3 separate regions of the Homo sapiens genome follow, and regions 1 and 3 are each linked to region 2. Evidence: promoter capture Hi-C in human tissues and cell types (Jung and others, 2019). All regions are on one chromosome and are shown on one strand. Each heading gives the region's core, a stretch centred on a gene start or on the middle of the fragment in contact. The rest is flanking DNA. Distances are from core to core; before and after follow the strand shown. Region 1 holds the start of UNKL (unk like zinc finger). Region 2 overlaps CRAMP1 (cramped chromatin regulator 1). Region 3 holds the start of CCDC154 (coiled-coil domain containing 154).

Evidence for each region. Contacts are between HindIII fragments. The study calls those that stand out against the background at their distance.
Region 1: the fragment with the promoter of UNKL here is called in contact with a fragment that was not itself captured in region 2 in 1 of the 25 tissues and cell types used here (dorsolateral prefrontal cortex).
Region 3: a contact is called between the fragment with the promoter of CCDC154 here and a fragment that was not itself captured in region 2, in 3 of the 25 tissues and cell types used here (dorsolateral prefrontal cortex, lymphoblastoid cells and stomach).

What each region holds. Positions count from the first base shown.
Region 1 is chr16:1,411,692-1,416,657 of GRCh38, forward strand. UNKL (unk like zinc finger) reads right to left here and starts at 3,013. Exons shown (of 15, transcript NM_001372107.1): 1 at 2,924-3,013; 2 at 2,155-2,364. The coding sequence starts at 3,000. UNKL-AS1 (UNKL antisense RNA 1) reads left to right here. Exons shown (of 2, transcript NR_188570.1): 2 at 238-560. RefSeq lists enhancers at 1,914-2,488, 2,489-3,063, 3,064-3,638, 3,639-4,212 and silencers at 2,008-2,157, 2,588-2,637, 3,178-3,297, 3,348-3,417. The HindIII fragment of the contact is 21,408 bases long and covers 1-4,966 here.
Region 2 is chr16:1,632,103-1,636,633 of GRCh38, forward strand. CRAMP1 (cramped chromatin regulator 1) reads left to right here. Exons shown (of 21, transcript NM_020825.4): 4 at 110-263. Among named protein-coding and RNA genes, the nearest start is that of CRAMP1, 22 kb to the left of the region's middle. The HindIII fragment of the contact is 4,859 bases long and covers 665-4,531 here.
Region 3 is chr16:1,441,261-1,445,805 of GRCh38, forward strand. CCDC154 (coiled-coil domain containing 154) reads right to left here and starts at 3,296. Exons shown (of 17, transcript NM_001143980.3): 1 at 3,056-3,296; 2 at 2,536-2,752; 3 at 2,246-2,435; 4 at 2,001-2,041; 5 at 1,620-1,715; 6 at 1,146-1,269. The coding sequence starts at 3,062. CLCN7 (chloride voltage-gated channel 7) reads right to left here. Exons shown (of 25, transcript NM_001287.6): 25 at 3,675-4,545. The HindIII fragment of the contact is 26,646 bases long and covers 1-4,545 here.

The DNA.
Region 1 (4,966 bases), core at 1,763-4,262, 220 kb before region 2:
GCACGCGCCTGTAATCCCAGCTACTCGGGAGGCTGAGGCAGGAGAATCGCTTGAACCTGGGAGGCGGAGGTTGCAGTGAGCTGAGATGGCGCCACTGCACTCCAGCCTGGGTGACAGAGACTTCGTCTCAAAACAAAAACAAAACAAACACTATTTAACTAATGTACAATTAAAAACATTTCAGTATTTAAAGTTTCTAGCGTCCTTAAAAAAAATTTTTTTTAATTTATCGCCTAGGCTAAGCACTGTTGAAAAAATAAAGGAAAACAGACTTCACAAGGATCTCCGTGCTGAAAGCAGCCTTCAACAGGAAGGTCCCTGGAGAATCAGCTCCTTCCAAAAGATCAGGGGATGAAGACTTCAAGACCGCAACTGCTGCTGTCTCACCCCTAGGCAGGAATGGACCACCCTCCGCCCTCCACCCTCCGCCAGCAGCCCACAGGAAGCAAGTAGAACCTGATACCACCTCCCGCCAGTCTGTGAATATATAATCTGACTTGTATTTTCCCTGTTTTCCCATTTTGCATACTTCAGAATAAAGACATCTGTTCATAACACTATTAGGAACCTTGTAAAAAAAGAAAAAAATCAACCAAAACAAAACCTTGATTTCTTAACTTTAAAAGTGCTACATAGGGGCCAGGCGTGGTGGCTCACGCCTGTAATCCCAGCACTTTGGGAGGCCAAGGAGGGAGAATCACCTGAGGTCAGGAGTTCGAGACCAGCCTCGCCAACATGGCGAAACCTCAACTCTATTAAAAATACAAAAACTTAGCTAGGCGTGGTGGCGGGTGCCTGTAATCCCAGCTATTCAGGAGGCTGAGGCAGGTCACTTAAACCTGCACAAGGCAGAGGTTGCCGTGAGCCAAGATCAAGTCACTGCACTCCAACCTGGGTGACAGAGCGAGACTCAGTCTCGATGCTACATAAATGAGCCTGCACATAAAAACTTTACTGTCTTAAAATTAAAATAAATACGTAAACATCAAGAGACGAAACATCCCAGATATATTCTACAGCGTGAATATTCTAACAAGCTCTCTGTGTGGAAAGCAACCGACCACTACAAAACGCTTCAAAACCTGGCCGGGCGCAGTGGATCATGCCTGGAATCCCAGTACTTTGGGAGGCCAAGGAGGGAGGATCGCTGTGCCCAGGAGGTTGAGACCAGACCAGGCTACAGCAAGAACCCTGTCTCTATAGAAACACAAAACAAGGCACTTGGCCAGAGGTTGGTTCTCATGCAGGAACTGTGTCAAATCAGAGTGGGAAACAGCTAGGCACAGTGGCTCACACCTGGAATCCCAGCACTTTGGGAGGCTGAAGCAGGAGGATTGCTTGAGCCCAGAAGTTCAAGACCAGCCTGGGCAATGTAGTGAGACCCCATCCCTACAAAAACTATGCAAAATTAGCTGGCATGGCATGAGCCTGTAGTCCCAGCTACTTGGGAGGCTGAGAAGGGAAGATCACTTGAGCCTAGGAGTTGGTGGCTGCAGTGAGCCGTATCCTATCATTGCACTCCAGCCCCAGCGACAGAGCAAGACCCTGTCTCAAAAAAAAAAAAAAAAAAAAAAAAAAAAAAAAAAAAAAAGTGGGGCCGGGTACGGTGGCTCATGCCTGTCATCCCAGCACTTTGGGAGGCCGAGGTGGGTGGATCACCTGAGGTTGGGAGTTCGAGACAAGCCTAACCAACATGGAGAAACCCTGTCTCTACTAAAAATAAAAAATTAGCTGGGCATGGTGGCACATGCCTGTAATCCCAGCTACTCCGGAGGCTGAGGCAGGAGAATCACTTGAACCTGGGAGGTAGAGGCTGCAGTGAGCCGAGATCATGCCATTGCACTCCAGCCAGAGCAACAAGAGTGAAACTCCGTCTCAAAAAACAAACAAAAAAAAGTGGGAGGTGAAGCAAAATTGGTTTGAGTCACACAAGGGTTACCCCTAAAACACACATAATCCCTCGGGAACTGGCCTGAGAATAGGAAATGCCGCCCCAGCATCCCTGGTCACTAGAAAATTTCAGCGTATAATTACGACTCCCTCTGCAGGGGCCAGGTATGGACACTAAGGCGTCCGCTGAGGGTCCCGGCCGCATCCCCGGGTGGAGGCCCCCCACCTCCGCCCAGGCAGCGGCGCCCCCTCGCGGCCGCTTACTCGTCGCCGTCGGGGCACACGCCGGTGGCTTCGTTGTACTTGGAGCAGTACACGTCGGGGCTGTAGTTGAAGGTGCCGTCGCGCCTGCGGAGGGGCCTGCGGCGCCGCTGGTTGAGGAAGTGCCAGTGGAAGCAGGTGAACGGCCGGTGCTGCGCGCACTTGTGCTGTGAAAACAGGGGGCACTGCTCCGTCCTGAACTCCTTCAGGTACCTACAAACACAGACAGCGCCGCGGCTCGCTTCCGGCAGCACCTCCAGGGACTCGGACTCGTGGGCGGCGGGACCCACCGGCCTCAGGAGCCTCAACCCAGGGTCGACCCGTACTCACATTCCCGGCGGGCCCCAGGCGCTGCGCCCACCCCCATCCCGACTCCAGACGCGACCCTCACCCGACCTCGTAGCCCAGGCGCTGACCCTGGTCCCCAAGCCCAAGCGCCACCCCGGACCCTGGGCGACCCGCTGTGACCTCACGGTCGGCAGCCGGAGCAGAGGGTCCCGGTCCCCGAGCCCAGGCGCAACCCCCAACCCCGGGGCGTTCCTCCCTCCCCAGAGGCGCGTGGACCCCGGAACCAGGTGCCATCCCAGACCATGGGCGCCGCGCTCCGACCTCAGGCGGAGGCCGCCGAGAGCAGAGGGTCGTGGCCCCCCCAGCCCAGGCGCTGCGCGGAGGCCGGGGGGCGCGGGGGCGGCGGAGGCGGCGCGAGCCCCGGCGGGAGGCTCCGAGCTGCACCGGGCGCGGGCGGGGGGCCGCAGGCCGGACGGGCGCTGACCTGTAGTGGGTCGGCTTCTCAGTCTGCGGGGGGGACCCGCTCAGCGCCGCTGCCGCCGCTTTCGAAACCGACGGCATTTTCAGTCAAAACAATGCAGCGCGCATGCGCCGCGCCGGCGCCCCCGCCCCCGGATATCCCCGCGCGCCCCCGCGGCCACGCCCCCCGCGGCCCCGCCCCCAGCCCGCAGACCCCGGCCCCGCCCCAGCCCCGCGCCCCCCGCAGCCCCGCCCCCGGCCCGCAGACCCCGCCCCAGCCCCGCGCCCCGCCCTGCCCTGCCCTGCCCTGCCCTGCCCTGCCCTGCCCTGCCCTGCCCTGCAGCCCCCGGCCCGGGACGCTGGTCCTGCCCGGGGCCGCGCGTGGGACCCGCGATGGTCGCCCCTGCTGTGACATGACCCGACATAACCGTGTATTTTACATGAATTAATCACAAGAGTTGTATCTCAATAGAGCTGCTCTTCCACAAACGAACCAAGAGGCTGATGTCAGGGGGAGCCAGGCACCGGGCGGAAGGGCCAAGGGGTCCTGGCCTTTGTAGAAAGGAATTTGTTCCATTTCGAACCTTGACCTCAAAAACTTATACTCAGAGATTTATCTACAAAGGTAATTATCACAGTTATTTTGCAAACACTTGAGGTCCCCCTTCCCCCAACAGCGCAGTAGCTGAGAAAAGGGAAAACTCTAAGTGCTCTGCGTGATTTGAAACAGTGCTTCCGAAGAATTTTTAGTGGTAGGAGGCCGGGCGCGGTGTCTCACGCCTGTAATCCCAGCACTTTGGGAGGCCGAGGCCGGCGGATCAGCTGAGTTCGGGAGTTTGACAACAGCTTGGCCAACAGTGAAACCCCGTCTCTACTAAACATACAAAAATATTAGTGGGGTGTGGTGGCTTGCGCCTGTAATTCCTGCTACTCCGGAGGCTGAGGCAGGAGAATGGCGTGAACCCGGGAGGCGGAGGTTTAGTAGTGAGCCGAGATTGCGCCACTGCACTCCAGCCTGGGTGACAGAGTAACACCCTGTCTCAAAAAATAAAAAAGAAATTTTTAGTGATATGAAAAATGTGCCCATTGGCCGGGCGCGGTGGCTCACGCCTATAATCCCTGCACTTTGAGAGGCCGAGGTGGGCGGATCACGAGGTCAGAAGATCGAGACCATCCTGGCTAACACGGTGAAACCCCGTCTCTACTAAAAATACAAAAAAAAAAAAAAAAATTACCCGGGCGTGGTGGTGGGCACCTGTAGTCCCAGCTACTCAGGAGGCTAAGGCAGGAGAATCACTTGAACCCAGGAGGCGGAGCTTGCAGTGAGCCGAGATCGCGCCACTGCACTCCAGCCTGGGCAACAGAGCGAGACTCCGTCTCAAAAAAAAAAAAAAAAAAAAAAAAAAAAAACGAAAAGAAAAATGGGCCCATTTAGGTTGAAAGCAAATCACTTCCTACAGATTTGTTCCAAGTATCTCAGGGTTTTTTTTAATATTAATACTGTAAAACAACAAAAACTATCATTTGCTGGTAGGATAAATTTCTTCATAGGTTCACATTTTCTTTTTCTTTTGGCGGGGGGCGGGGGGAGGAAGGAGTTTTGCTCTTGTTGCCCAGAGTGGAGTGCAATGGCACGATCTCGGCTCACTGTTGCAACCTCCGCCTCCTAGGTTCAAGGAATTCTCCTACCTCAGCCTCCTGAGTAGCTGCGATTACAGGCATGCACCACCGCGCCCAGCTAATTTATTTTTCGTAGAGACGGGGTTTCTCCACATTAGTTAGGCTGATCTCGAACTCCCGACCTCAGGTGATCCACCTGCCTCAGCCTCCCAAAGTGCTGGGATTACAGGCGTGAGCTACCGCGCCAGCCAGGATCACATTTTCTTAATGAATTATCTCTACAAACATTACATTTAAATCTTAAAATGATAATGAAGAACATATTTTCAAGTGAAGTCAAGCAGGAAAATGAAGTCAAGCAGGAAGGGCAGGGCCTGCAAATTCTTCAGAGACGAATAAACAGATCTTGAAGACTCCCAAGGTGCTAGGAATGGAAAGGGAGTCTAGG
Region 2 (4,531 bases), core at 1,844-4,343:
TACAGCCTGTCTCCTTTCTCCTTTCTCGGAACCTTGGAAAGGGTCCAGTTAACACAGAAAGCTGCATTGTTTTAACCCCTCTACATTTATCATGGAATTTATTTTCCAGCATGGGAAAGACTTTGAAGCGATTCAGAACAACATTGCGCTGAAGTACAAGAAGAAAGGCAAGCCAGCAAGCATGGTGAAGAACAAGGAGCAGGTCCGCCACTTCTACTACCGCACCTGGCACAAGATCACCAAGTACATCGACTTTGATCATGGTGAGTGTGCCACGGGCCAGGCTCGGGGGTGCCCACAGGCAGGGCCGGCTTCTGCTCAGAGCGCAGCTTCCAGCAAGCCCGCCGGACCTGCTTTCTGGCATTTTCTCACCAGCCGCTTGGCCTGGGGCTCCTCGCCTTGCAGCGCTTTGGCTGATTGTGTGCTGTCTAACTCGGTCAAACCAAGTTGCCAGGAAGTGGCCCGTATCCCATGCTCCAGGGTTCTTACCACTGCTTTTCTGAGCTATGGTTTGTGTGTTTCCAGTGGCTCTGAGTGTGCGTGAGTTCTGGGTCCCTGGCTCACCTGAAGCCTGTGGTCTCCACTGCAAATGATAGCACCATGGTCCAGCGAGGGGCTTGGGCCGCAGGCACCGTGCCTGGCGCTGGTCTTCCTGGGGGACGGCCAGCCTTCCCAGGCCTCTCGCCCTCTACACTGGGACCCAGGTCTGCGTCGGCCCTCGTTCAGTCACGGGACCAAGTCATCCCCAGGTAGAATTCTGGCTTCTGGCTCAGAGCACCCTTTGGCTACTGGTGGCTTCTCCGGATGATGCTTTGTCCATCACCATCTCTGTCCTTGGGAGTCTTAGCTGCCTCCTGCCTCCGCCTATGAGAACTACCTCTCCAGCAGCGCACCTGTGCTGGGCCCTGCTCTTCATTCCTGTAGCTTCACACACAGCTTGGTCCTTCCAGATGTACCCCCAGAGCACCCCTCTGCCTTCTGAGCCTTCTTTCAGATGTCTCACATTCTGACCCAGGGTACCTGGACTGTGGCCACACTGCCACTCTTTGTGCCCTTGCCTGTGCCTCGTGGTGACCTAAAGTCCTTCGCCTTGGCCATTCCTGTGGTGTCCTCTGGGTGGGTTATGGCATCTTGACCATGGTGCATCAGCTTTGCCCGGAGCTTTGGGAAGAGCCAGGACCCAGCTCCCCTGTGTGACTGGGCAGAGCCCTGAGGGCCGCAGACACCCCCTGCCCACCACGCAGCTAGCTTCTCCACTGAAGAACCTCCACTGGGAGATTGTCACCGTTTCTGGAGATCCATGGAAACGGCTGTTGGTCTCTGCACATTAGGGGTACCCCTTGATTCGGGTCTGCCGCCGATGCGGTTTTGTTTGTTTGCTTTTGGTATCCACGTGACCATTCATGTAAGATTTTCTGCTGACTTCACCTATTTATAGCACATCAGTTCCGTTTTGTCCTATATTTGATGCCTGTGCTGGTCTTCTCATGTTCAGCTCACTTGTTTATTTGAAATCTCAGCACTGGTCAGATCCCGTCATCCAAGGCTGTTGTGGTTAATGTCAGGTTGTGGTGAGTGGCCTTGTGCCTTCCAGAGTGGCACGCAGCACCGACTTTTCATTGTCGGCCTCTTCCTGTGTCGTCTGTCCTTTGCATCGTTCATTAGTGCCTTTTTGAAAGACAGTCCAGGCTGCGCGCGGTGGCTCATGCCTGTAATCAGCACTTTGGGAGGCAGAGGCGGGCGGATCACGAGGTCAAGAGATCAAGACCATCCTGGCCAACATGGTGAAACCGCATCTCTACTAAAAATACAAAAATTAGCTGGGCATGGTGGTGCACACCTGTACTCCCAGCTACTCGGGAGGCTGAGGCAGGAGAATTGCACCACTGCACTCCAGCTTGGCCACAGAGCAAGACTCCGTCTCAAAAAAAAAAAAAGAAAGAAAGTCAGTCCATGAGAGCAGATCTGCCATCCACTGTGGCTGGTCTTGAAAAGCTCTCTATGGGGGAAGCTGGCCAGCAGCGGAGGGGACTGGGCAGCTGTTTAGTAGATGAGGTATAGAGAGAGGGATGGGATTCCAGGAGCTTCGGTCTAGTGTGCTTTGCTTGAACCATCTGCGGGCAGGGTGGGAAGCGTCTTTGGACCCTCAGGCTCCTGGCGTAGACTTATCTCCTCTTCTGAGGTTCAAATGCACATTCTACTTGCCAACCCAGGCTCTCTCCCATGTCAATTTCAGAAGGCAGTCAAAGCAAACATTTCTTTTCTAATTGTGTCACCTTTCCCTGTTAAACAACCTCCTAATCCTAAACTTGCTGGTGCGAGGAGGCCTCATTCCTCTTTGGCCCTTCTGTCCATCTAGGGTGAAGGGTAAATGCTCCCTCACACCTCTCGGTGGGGGGTCACACCCAACACAGGTCCTTTTCCCTTCTCCGTGTGGGCCCCTGTGCTTCCCTCTCTTCCTGACCTGGCACAGCAGGCTCCTACAGCCTTGGTGTCTCCTGTTCGTGCATCTTTGGTGTGACCCCACATGATGTGCCTTCTTCCTGTTGAGCTCACCGTTCTCCCGTGTTCTCCCGGGTTCTCTGATGGCCCTGACTGTCTCTTCAGCAGGGCTGTCTGCCTCCGTGCCAGCGGGCAGCGGCATTGGGGCACCCGATGCTGACTTGCCCAACAGGAGCATGAGGCTGGAGGCCACTAGGACACTGCGAAGTGACTGGCCCCATGGACTGTCATTGCGCATCAAACAGAGTGGCAACTTTTTCACGTTACATGTATTTTTGGCGTGCTTTGGAGTTTTGTTTTGTTTTGTTTTTTGAGCCAGAGTCTTGCTCTGTTGCCCAGGCTAGAGTGCCATGGCGCACTCTCAGCTCACTGTAACCTCCATCTCCCAGTTTCAAGCGATTCTCATGCCTCAGCCTCCCGAGTAGCTGGGATTACAGGTGTGCACCACCACACCCAGCTAATTTTATATTTTTTAGGAGAGATGAGGTTTCACTATGTTGCCAAGCTGGTCTTGAACTCCTGAGCTCAGGAAATCCACCTGCCTCGGCCTCCCAAAGTGCAAGGATTACAGGCGTGAGCCACCACGCCTGGCCTGTGCTTTGGAGTTTTGAAGAGCACACCGTGTGCACTTTATCATGGGTTTGTCTGACTCATCTTGTGGCGTGAGACACAGAGTGGTGGCAAGCGAGCGTGGAAGGGACTGACTCCGCCCCCAGCTTGGGGGCCTTGCGTGTGTGTTCGTCTTACTAATCTCCCGTGGTTTCCATGCACATCTGCGTTTCCTTGCTGCTGTCCATTGCTCAGTGGAGATTTTGCTTCACGAACTCAAAGTTGGATGAGGTGAGCTTGGTTCCTGTCCCTGAGTGTGTAATAAAACATGAGGTGCCACCTAGGAGGCCGTGGGGCCAGGCGGGGCATCAGGGACACCTCCCGGAAGCCCTGCTTCGTCCCAGGGTCCCACCTCCCCTGGGGTCCCTTGTCTGCAGTGTCTTGCTCTTGGTGCTACTTTCTTGTTTCTGGGTTGTGGGTTTTTTTCTTTTTGCCATTTCAAATAGTGGACTTTAAAATATATATTTTAGAAATGGGGATATTATTCACCCTTTTAAAGCATACAACTTAGTGGTTCTTAATGTACTTACAAGGTTATGCAGCCATTGCCACTCTCTAGTTGCAGAATATGTCCATTGCCCAGGAGGAAACCCTGTGCCCCGGTGCTGGGAGCCCTCAGTTTACTACCTCCTGTCTCTATGGATCGTTCTACTCTGGATGTTTCATAGAAATGGGATCACGTGCTATGTGTCCTTCTGTGCCTGGTTTCCTTCACTCAGCGTCAGGTTTCAGGGTTTGTCTGTGTTGTAGCGTGTGCCAGTCCTTTGTATGGCTGGATTATTTTCCTTTGGGTGGATGGCCACATTTTGCTTGTCTACTGAATAGTGGATCTTAAAGCTTTCCGAGTCATGGGCTCCTTTAAGAAAGTCTGATGAGGCCAGGCGTGGTGGCTCACGCCTGTAATCCCAACATTTTGGGAGGCCGAGGTGGGCGGATCACCTGAGGTCAAGAGTTTGAGACCAGCCTGACTAACGTGGTGAAACCCCGTCTCTACTAAAAATACAAACATTAGCAGGGCGTGGTGGCGCATGCCTGTAATCCCAGCTACTTGGGAGGCTGAGGCAGGAGAATCCCTTGAACCTGGGAGGCGGAGGTTGCAGTGAGCTGAGATCGCGTCACCGCACTCCAGCCTGGGCAACAAGAGCGAAACTCTGTCTCAAAAAAAAAAAAAGAAAGAAAGAAAAAAAGAAAGTCTGATGAGCCCTTAGGTCTTAGGTCTTTCTCTCAGAAGAGCCTTTGAGAGCAGTTGGCCTGTGCTTAGCCGTGTCCGAGACCCATGGTCCAGAATCCTCCTCATATCTTGAAAGCCTGCTTCTCCATTTACCAGTCTTAGGGCCTTGAGAACAGGTCTCTGAGGAGAGAACTAGAGAGGACAATTGTGAGAGTAGAGGGGACAAATGGCCTTCACCCCTGCTCTGTG
Region 3 (4,545 bases), core at 2,046-4,545, 190 kb before region 2:
CCCTGCCTGCTCCACACGGCCACTCAGTAACTTCCTGAAGGGCAGTGAGAGGGAGGCTGCCGGCTCCGGGCAGTGGAGCTATGTGGGTGGCAGCTGGGTGCCCCGGCAGTCCTGGCCCCTCACCCAGCGTACTGCCTGATGCGCACGGGAGCTGGCTGCAGTCCCCGGTCTCTATTTGTGGAGCTCAGACCCGGGCTGCTGAAATGTGCAGCTGCCCGTTCCCTCCCCACCCACAGCGGAGGCCCCTGCTGAGGCCACAGCAGGAGGGGGAGCCACTCCAGCCCCGTGGGTGGGACCCTGGCTTCTAGGAACTCGTGTCCTCGAGGAAGGTGAACTCCGCTTTGTGTGCAGGGAAAGGTGGAGCCCGAGAGTGGCCGTGGAAGGGGCTTCGGGGCTGCGATCTGTGGACCCGGGCAGGCGCTGGCTGTGTGGGGAGGGGTGGAGGCGGCAGGACACAGGCAGCTTCCTGGGACGAAGAGCGCCCAGATCTGCAGCTGCCGGCCCCACGTGGCAACTGAGCTTTTTTTTGAGATGAGGTCTCGCTGTGTTGCCCAGGCTGGTCTTGACTTCCCAGGCTCAAGCGATCCTCCCGCCTCGGCCTCCCAAAAGTGCTGGGATTTACAGGCGTGTGCCACTGCACGTGGCCTGAGCTTTTGTTTTTTTGTTTTGTTTTGTTTTTTGAAATGGAGTCTCACTCTGTCACCAGGCTGGAGTGGCGCGATCTCAGCTCACTGTGACCTCCTCCTGCTGGATTCAAGCAATCCTCCTGCCTCAGCCTCCTCAGTAGCTGAGGCTACAGGTGCCCGCCACCACACCTGGCTAGTTTTTTGTATTTTTAGTAGAGATGGGGTTTCACCATGTTGGCCAGGCTGGTCTTGAACTCCTGACCTTGTGATCTGCCCGCCTCAGCCTCCCAAAGTGCTGGGATTACAGGCGTGAGCCACCGTGCCCAAACAACCTGAACTTTTGAAATGGGGCATGTGCGGCTGAGGAATTGAGTTTTACATTGTCTACAACTATAGCTGATTTCAGTGGACACAGATACATGGTGAACGGCCGCTGTATCGGATGGCACAGGCCGAGAGGGTTAGGGTCTCCTCCTCGGCCCTCTGGGCGGCCCCCCTGAAGCCTGGGCCTGGTGGTACCTGCATTCTGGCCACCTCCAGGTCCACCCTCCGGCTGCTGTCCTCTTGGTTCTTCTGCAGGGCGCCGCAGGCCACCTCCCGGCCCTGCTCCTCCTGCTGCAGCAAGTCGGTCAGCTTGGCCAGTCTAGAGAAGTCGGCTGTGGTCACACCAGCCCAGCTGGCCGGAGGGCCCAGCAGGGTGAGGCTGACCCACAGGCTGGCCAGGCAGGAGGTGTACGACCCCCGCCCCCTGCCCCACCAGAAAACAGAGGAATGGGAAACACAGCACCGGTGGCAGGGAAGGGCTGCTGCGAGTCTCTTCCCCACAGAGGGTCCGCAGCGGGCCCAGGCTTCCCAGCACGCTTGGCACCGAGGGCGGTGCCCCGCCGGGTTACTGGGGACACACGGCAGGGGGACCCGTGTCTTGGCTCAGCCAGGGACTCTCAAATGACCCCACGCAAGCTCCGGAGCCAGCCACGGGCGGTGGGCGCCCACCTGAGGCCGGCCTCTTGCTCGGCGCCCCTTCTCTCCGCCTCCTGTTGCACCTGCCTCCTCCTGAGCCGGGTCAAGGCTTCCCGGACCTCCACCAGCCTGGGACACAACAAGCCATTCCCGAGAGGCCCAGGCGGGCTGAGCAGCCTCGGCGGGCTGGGGGTCTGGCCAAGGGGCCCCTGTGGCCACCTCCCATGGCTTTCCTGGGCCTCTGAAGGCCGCCCAGGCACGTACAAACCCGGCCTTTTCTAGCTGGACCTGGATGTGTATCCCCCACTCCAGCGACACCCAGCGGGAGATGTGGACCCCCCACCACACCTGCCGCTGCTTTCTCGCCACCACCTCCCCGCCCTGGGCCTGTGCCCCTAGGTGTGTGGGGGGTACCTTTTGTCCAGGGCCTGCATCTGGTTCTGGAGACCAGAGAACTGCGAGGAGGAAGAGGAGGCTGTGGGCTGGACCTAGGCCCGGGTCTGGCACCTGCCCCTGGAGTCCACCCAGCTCCGGCACCACTGGCCCCTGGGAGCTCTGGGCCTGGGCAGCAGGGGTGAGCTGGGCTCCAGGCCCAGAAGCAGCTGCCCCCAACACCCAGGAAAGGGGCAGCTCGACCTGTGGGTGGGGGAGCCGCTCACCTCCGGCGCCTCCTTTTCGGGGGCCTGGGCTGCCGGCCGCGCCTCCTGCTGCAACTGCCTCAGCTCTGAGCCCTGCAGCTGCACGCGGGCCCGCACCTGGAGCAGCTCCCGCAGCAGGCTCCGCGTGGCGCGCTCACAGCGCTGCTTGTGCTCCCGCAGGCAGGCCACCTCGGCCTGCAGCTCCACCACCCTGGCCGGGGCGAGAGTGGGCGAGTCTGGCGGTGCCCGCCGTGGAGGCGGAGGCGGCGGCGACGTGGTCCTCCCCCGCCAGCACCCCCTGCAGGGCTCACCACTGCTCCAGCTGGTTCCAGTGCTTGGCGGTGTCCTGCTCGGGGACAGAGGCCGTGGATGTCGGATGGCTGGACTCATACCTCTCCGAGAGCTCCTCCAGGCTCAAGGGCTCGGGGCTGGCCAGGCCTCCTGCCAGGAGGAGCCCCAGGTCTTCCAGGGTGACGGCTCTCAGCTGGGAAGGGGCCGATGCCCCTGAGGGTCCACTGTCAGCCAACTCTACAAGGAGGCATCTTGGGAGCTTGCCCCTTGGGGCCCGGCCCCCACTGGAGCTTACGGGAACAAGGCCCCAAACCCCCGCAGGACCCTCGCCCACCACCCAGAGCTCAACGCGTCTCCTTGGGTCACACAGGATCCAGACGGGCTTGGCTCAGACAAGTCCAGGGCCCTGCCTGAAGACACACAGCACTGGGCGGCAGGAACAAGCGAGCTGGAGGGAGCCCGGGGTCAGAAGCAGAGCGGTCCCCACCCTCACACCTGTGGCAAGCCCCTCCCTGGGCCCCGCTCCTCCGCTCTGGTCACCTGACATGGCTGCTGGGCTGCACCGGCCACCCTGCCCTCGGCTGTAGCTTGGGCCTTGGGGCCTCTGAGGTTGCCCAGAGCTGGGCACAGGCCAGGGGGGTCAGGAGCCAGAGGAAGTCCCGTGAGAGCTCTGGGCCTTGAGGGACGAGCTGCTGCCCTCGTCTGGCTGCCTTCTCAGGGTCCCCAGGGAGGCAGGTGTGGGGCAGCGGGGCCGTTCCAGAACCTTCCTTCTCTCCCCAGAACCTCACGGCTTCACAGCCCAACTGCCAATGGAACTCTAGCCCTCAGCTCTCCCACTCCCGCAGGGCCCCCCAACTGCCTGCTTCTGGATGGATCTGAGGGGCCCCACTCCCGAGAGGGCGCAGACACGTGTCCTCTGGCAAAGGGGACTTCTTCAGCTGCCGAGGGAGGGGAAGGAGGCCCTGACGAGGCCTGGGCACGCCGGGAGGGACGCTGGGAGCAGGGAGGCCGAGAGCCCCAGGACACCCCGGACACAGCCAGGCCCACGTCCGAGCGGAGCCCGAGGCCTGGGCAGCGCCATCGGGGTGAGGGGCACAGCCGGGCTCCACGGGAACCCATCTTGCTCAGCAGCCCCATTAAAAGGCAAGAAGCAGCGATGTGAATCCTAACCGCTGATTTTATTTAACCGAATATATCCAAAATATGATCACTTCCAGGTCCTCAGTACACAACCACCACGAGGGAAACCCAGACCTAGGTTTCCGGCGCCGACTCTGAGGCCCGGGAGTTTTCTTCTTGCGTCACCCCAGCGTGGGCACCCCGGCCCGCCCCCCTCCACCTGGAGCGCCTCTGCCTTGCCCCCAGACCCACCAGCCAGGAGCCAGAGGAGGGAGGCTGAGGGGCGGGGACGAGGAAGAGGATGTGGCTGGTGCCCTGGGTGGCCGCAGCCGCTGTCTTTCACGCCTTTCTCACTCCACACGGTGCCCCGACCCCAGGGTCCCGAAAGTCCCAGGCTGTTGGACGTGGTCTGGGTGGGGTGGGAGGGACGACGCTGGCAAAGGCGGGCTGAGAGGATTTCTTTATTTCGCGTTCAGACCCAACACACTCGGACACCTTGGGGCCCTGTGAGGGCTAAGCAGGGTGGTGGCGTCAGCTCCCGGGGAGGCCCCACTCCCTGGGGAGGAAATACACGGCAGGGGGCCGCACCCAGCCCCCCACGGAGGGACCCGTGTTGCTCTAACAGGGACACTGAAGTTGCCTCTGCCGCCCCGTGAGGGGCCTGTGGCGGCCCCAGACCCAGCCCAGCCAGGCCAGAGGAGCCTCCCAGGGGCCCTCAGGTGGTGAGGTGGGGGCTTCCCGGCCCCGGTGCCCACCGGCCCTTCTAGCTGCCTGTGCTGGGCCAGGTGTCCTCTGAGGCCGGCAGGAGTCTGGCCCCCGCTGCACCTGCGCTTGGTGGCTGGCAGGGGCGGGGTAGGGAGGTCACCCTCGAGGCCGGGGTCCCCATGTGCTAGGGGAAGACCTGCCTTCCC